2 separate regions of the Homo sapiens genome follow, and region 2 is linked to region 1. Evidence: promoter capture Hi-C in human tissues and cell types (Jung and others, 2019). All regions are on one chromosome and are shown on one strand. The core of a region is centred on a gene start or on the middle of the fragment in contact, and the rest is flanking DNA. Distances in the headings are between cores, read along the strand shown.

Region 1 (2,833 bases), core at 242-2,741:
GCTGAGTGATGAAATAACGGAGAGGAAAAGATTAATCCGGGCAGATAACCCAGCGTAGCGCTGGCTCTGCTGCGCAGCCTTGCTGCTGTGGAGTGTGGCGCTGCAACTCTAAAGGGCTGCGTCCACCCTCCGTCTTCCTCCCCGCCTCTCAGTTGGCCGAAGCTTCTGATCACACAGACAAGAATCTCCGCTCGCTTTCCCGCTGGCCTCCAGGCAGCCAAGTTCACTCAAGCTCTCTCAAAGCTTTTGCAAGAGTGGGTCTTAAATCCTGGCGGGGGGCACGTGCACTCATTTAAGACTTAAAAAGGAATCGGAAATGACTGTCCCCATGCCCACTGCTGCCCACAAACCTGAAGACCCAAGCGACCACACTTGGTAGGCACTTCTGCCCTTCTGGTCTGGTTCCCACCCGCCCATCCCGAATCGCGGTTATCTTTCCCGGTGCTCACAGCATGCAGACCACAGCCTGTGGCCGCTAGTGTTTCCTTCGCTAGGACCACGGGTAATTGTCTTGGCTTCGCATCTTTTGACTGGCAGGCAGGTGGACAGGGACTTGCCCTACCTCAACCCGGTCCCCAGCTTGGCACGAGCAGATAAATCTTGAAAAAGAAAAATGATCTGGGCCGTTTAACCGTGGCATGGCGGGTCCAGATCCCCAAACCTGTCACTAGTGACGTCCCACGTGGCAGATTCGCTCTCAGGGAAGCCCGTCACCGTTTTTGTCCGGGACATCCTCCCCATGCCCACCCTCCGCTCCGGGAATTCACCCTCGGGGCCGCCCCGCCTCGTTCCCTCCCACAGCCCGGCGGACCCGAGACGGGAAGGGCAGGCACTCCCTGCAGAGTCCCTGGGGCGCCCGTGGCTCGGGGTGCGCGGTGGGACTCGGTGAAGCCGGCGTCTTCACCCCAGAGCCGCGGCTTCGGGGCCGCTGGAGGAGCGAGAGTGGCGCCCGGATGACTGATCGCCGCGGAGAAAGTCCCCCGGGACTGTGACCCCCGCGCCGGGGGGCGGACGCAGGGCGTGGCTGAGGCGCAGGAAGATGCCGCGATGGGACCGGGAAAAAACACCGACCCCAAAACACCCACTGTGTTTCTCAACCTGAGTTCCCCGGCAGCCGCCGAAGGACCCCAAAGGCTGCATGGCGCCCCCCTGGTCCCCACCCCCCCGGGCGTCGCCTCGCGTGGGTGGGCTTCGCGTTCCCTCCGGGGTTTCAGAGCCACCACGTGACTTCCACGAAGCGCGGGGCGCCGGCGGAAAGCCGCGGCAGGGGTGGGATTTGGGACCCCGAGGTGCGGAGAGAGGGCGGGCAGAGGAGGAAACGAGGCGGGGGTGGGAGAAGGAGGGCGGGGCAGACGTGGGACGGGAAGGACGGCTGCCGGGACTGGCGCGCGGGGACACTGGGCCGACGCGTGGAGTAGCGGGGAGAGCGGGAAGCCTGAGGGGGCGGGGCCGGCGCGAGGCCGTGGGTGCGGCACGAGGATGCCGGCGGCGGGACAGCGCCCGTAGGCAGCCCCACGGGCAGGGCGCGCGGGCGGGGCGGGGCGGGCCGGGCCAGAGGAGCGCCCGGCATGTCGCAAGGGCTCCCGGCCGCCGGCAGCGTCCTGCAGAGGAGCGTCGCGGCGCCCGGGAACCAGCCGCAGCCGCAGCCGCAGCAGCAGGTAGAGGGCGAGAGGCTCAGGGAGGGCCGTGGGGTGCGGGGACCGGCGCGCCGCGGGGGGCGAGGAGGTGGGTGCTGGAGTTCCGTGGTGGTGACTGCGGAGGTGCAGAGGTGGCGGGTGCGGCCGGAGACAAGCAGAGGTAGGGGCGTAGGGATGTTGGGGAATGGGGGCGATCCAGGGACCCTGTCGTGCGCACAGTGTCCGCGGCTCCTGGAATGGCTCCTGAGCCAGCTCCTGCGCCCTCTGGGGGAAGAAGCCCGAGGGCGCCGACGCCTGGCTGGGCCGGGCATGGCCGGTGCTCCCCGGCACGTGGGCTCCGCACTGCCCTGAGGGCCGCCCCATCCTGGCGCAGCCAGCGACTGCCACCCCACCACCCGCGCCTGTAGCCCCTCCAGGATTCCCCCGGGTGGGGGGGGTGCTGCCGCGGGAATGGAGAACGCCGGACTAGTCAGCCTGGGCGGAGGGAACCCACAAAGGGCCGACTCCGCCCCCAGCTGGTGGAAACCCTTTGCCCCTTCCCAGTTCGCTGTCCCCTAGCAACGTTTACAGCGGCGCAGTCAGGAAGGAGACCAGGTTGGCCACAGGGACGGCCGTCTGGAAACTTTGCCTGGGTCTTGGCCACCTGCCTTACGACGAAGACTGGGTCTTTTCATCCTTACTCCCCACCTTCCCAATTCAGCGCCCGGCCCATGTCATCAGGTGTCGCTGGAGTGTCACAGAGATCTGAGTTTGGGCCTGGGCTTTGCCACACACAGGCTGAGCAGCCTTGAGCAATTTGTTTAACCTCTCGGACCGTCCATTTCCCCATCTGTAAAATGAATATAGTAACATCAACCTCTCAGGATTTTTGAGACTGAATCAGATATGGTTAATAACATAATACTATCTCTAACTTTCGCTCACCTCTTTCTGTCTTGATTAAATGTTTCTGCTGGGTTGGCAGGTGTGATCATGGTGATGAGTCCAGTTTAGAGTCAGCTCCCCGAGGGCAGTATGCAGGCTGCTTTCTTGTGCTAGTGACTTTTTGATTACAGAGAGCAAAGAGGCATGAGAAGCACTATGCAGAATACATTTTTTTTTAAAGTAGCAACTTCAACAAAGGCAGGTAACTTCTTGAGGGCATACTGTATGCTGGGAGCTTTAGGACAAAATCTCATTTCATCGCATCCCAATCC
Region 2 (2,732 bases), core at 3-2,502, 130 kb before region 1:
ATGCCTGTAATCCTAGCTACTCTGGAGGCTGAGGCAGAAGAATCACTGGAATCCGGGAGGAGGAGGTTGCAGTGAGCAGAGATCGCGCCACTGCACTACAGCCTGGGCAACAAGAGCGAAACTCCGTCTCAAAAAAAAAAAAAAAAAAAAGGAAGTAAATGTCCGATCAGATAGTGATAAATGGGTAAGAGCTATGGGGAAACAGAAAACAGCAGGGTGGGGGATAGGAAGTGTTGGATGGAGGGTGTATTGCTGCCCATATAACTATATGGGGATTACTATCCAGGGCATGAGGGATGACCCAGGACTCCTGGGTTCCTTGAGGAGTCCAGTGTAAACAGGGATAAGGGACAGAATGAGATTAGTCCTGATGGTCGAACCTAGCGGTGGTCTAACCTGGTGGGGAGGCCTGTGTGTTGAGGGGAAGTAATGTTACAGATTTTGCATAGAGTATTTGGAGTTCTGGGTGATCCTCTTTGCTTCTATTAATAGTGACGTGAAGACTAGGAAAGAAGTTCTCTTAGTCCGAGATTTCCAGGCCCTCTTTTCAATCTTCCACTTGGAGATGTGGAGCCCAAAAGGGGGGCAGTTTATTTAAATATATAGAATTAAAAACACCTGGGTTCAAGTTTTGCCTCTGTCATTGACTAGTATCATGCTTTTAGTAATTTGAGGTTTTTTTTTTTTTTTTTAGAGGCAGAGTCTTGCTCTGTCACTGGGGCTGGAGCGCAGTGGTGTGATCATAGCTCACTGTATCCTCAACCTCCTGGGCTCGAGCGATCCTCCTACCTCTCAGCCTCCCGAGTAGCTGGGACTATAGGCATGTGCCACCATGCTTGGCTAACTTTTGTATTTTTTTAATAGAGTCTGGATTTTGCCATGTTGCCCAGGTTGGTCTCAAATTCTTGACCTCAAGCAATCTGCCTGCCTCAGCCTCCCAAAGCGCTGGGATTACAGGCGTGAGCCACCGTGCCCAACCATTTGGTGTTTCTTTCTTTCTTTTTTTTTTTTTAATTTATTGAGACGGAGTCTCACTCTGTCACTTTGTCACAGGCTGTAGTGCAGTGGCTCGATCTTGGCTCACTGCAACCTCTGCTGCCCGGGGTTCAAGCGATTCTCCTGCCTCAGCCTCCAGAGTAGCTGGGATTACAGGTGTGCACCACCACACCCAGCTAATTTTTTTTGAGATTTTTTCTTGCTCTGTCACCAGGCTGGAATGCAGTGTTGCGATCTCGGCTCACTGCAACCTCCACCTCCCGGGTTCAACTGATTTCTCCTGCCTCAGCCTCCTGAGTAGCTAGGACTACAGGCGCATCCCACCACACCCAGCTAATTTTTGTCTTTTTAGTAGAGATGGGGGTTTCAACATGTTGGCCAGGATGGTCTCCATCTCTTGACCTCGTGATCCGCCCACCTCAGTCTCTCAAAGTGCTGGGATTACAGGCGTGAGCCACAGCGCCTGGCCGCCATTTGGTGTTTCTTTTTTTTTTTTTGGAGTCGGAGTCTTGCTCTTTCGCCCAGGCTGGAGTGCAGTGGTGTGATCTCGGCTCACTGCACGTTCCGCCTCCTGGGTTCAACCGATTCTCTTGTCTCAGCCTCCTGAGTAGCTGGGACTACAGGAGCGCGCCACGACGCCCGGCTAATTTTTGTATTTTTTTAGTAGAGATGGGGTTTCACCATCTTGGCCAGGATGGTCTCGATCTCCTGACCTCGTGATCCGCCCACCTCGGCTTCCCAAAGTGCTGGGATTACAGGTGTGAGCCACCGCACCCGGCCCATTTGGTGTTTCTAAACCTTAGTTCCTGTATCTGAAAAACAATACTCTGCCCTCCAGGGTTATTTTAAAAACCATGAAATGTGTTATAAGTTATATAACAAATACTTTTTATTTTTTATTTTTTCAGATAATGCCATATTTGGATAAAGTGCATCTCCAGAGACACACGGAAATACATTCTCTTTGATTCTTCTTCAGTGTGTCTAAATTATTTACAAATTATTAATTATAAACAAAGCTAAACAAAAGTATTCACTAGATCCCTCAAAAAACATTAAGTCACATAAAACATATCTTTATTCATTCCATTCTATCATTTAAACTTAGATGATTTGAAGAGAGGATTTGAGTTTTTTAGTTACTTTCAAACATGAATACCTAAGAGTTTAGTTTACAGTGATCCCTTTTTTTTTTTTTTTTTTTTGAGACAGAATCTTGCTCTGTTCCCCGGGCTGGAATGCAGTGGCATGATCTCAGCTCACTGCAATCTCCACCTCCTGGGTTTAAGCTATTCTCCTGTCTCAGCCTCCTGAGAAGCTGGGACTACAGGCGCACGCCACCACACCCAGCTAATTTTTGTATTTTTAGTAGAGATGACATTTCACCATGTTGGTCAGGCTGGTCTTGAACTCCTGACCTCAGGTGATCCACTCGCCTTGGCATCCCAGAGTGCTGGGATTACAGGTGTGAGCCACCATGCCCAGGCAATCTTCTCCTTAGTAATCTAAAATGTTTAAATAATAGTTTATATTTGTTTCTATAACTCAATGGAATATATTGACCAACCCCACTGATCAGGTTGAAGGCTAAAAAGTTAACACTTGCTTATAAATGATAGATTAACTTCCTCTGTTAAAGTTATGGTTTTGATTATTTGAATAAGGAGATATTTGAGAGGCTAATATAAGGTGCCTGTAGACAGGGCTTTCTGTTACATTACGTTGTCCATCCCCAC

The links. The method cuts DNA at HindIII sites, captures the fragments that hold promoters and counts their contacts. A contact is called where the count stands out against the background at its distance.
Region 2: a fragment that was not itself captured here is called in contact with the fragment with the promoter of BATF3 in region 1 in 1 of the 25 tissues and cell types used here (pancreas).

What each region holds. Positions count from the first base shown.
Region 1 is chr1:212,698,498-212,701,330 of GRCh38, reverse strand. BATF3 (basic leucine zipper ATF-like transcription factor 3) reads left to right here and starts at 1,491. Exons shown (of 3, transcript NM_018664.3): 1 at 1,491-1,658. The coding sequence starts at 1,569. RefSeq lists silencers at 1,474-1,553, 1,744-2,193. The HindIII fragment of the contact is 5,625 bases long and covers 1-2,833 here.
Region 2 is chr1:212,829,434-212,832,165 of GRCh38, reverse strand. SPATA45 (spermatogenesis associated 45) reads left to right here. Exons shown (of 3, transcript NM_001024601.3): 3 at 1,905-2,025. The coding sequence ends at 1,924. Among named protein-coding and RNA genes, the nearest start is that of SPATA45, 17 kb to the left of the region's middle. The HindIII fragment of the contact is 3,043 bases long and covers 1-2,732 here.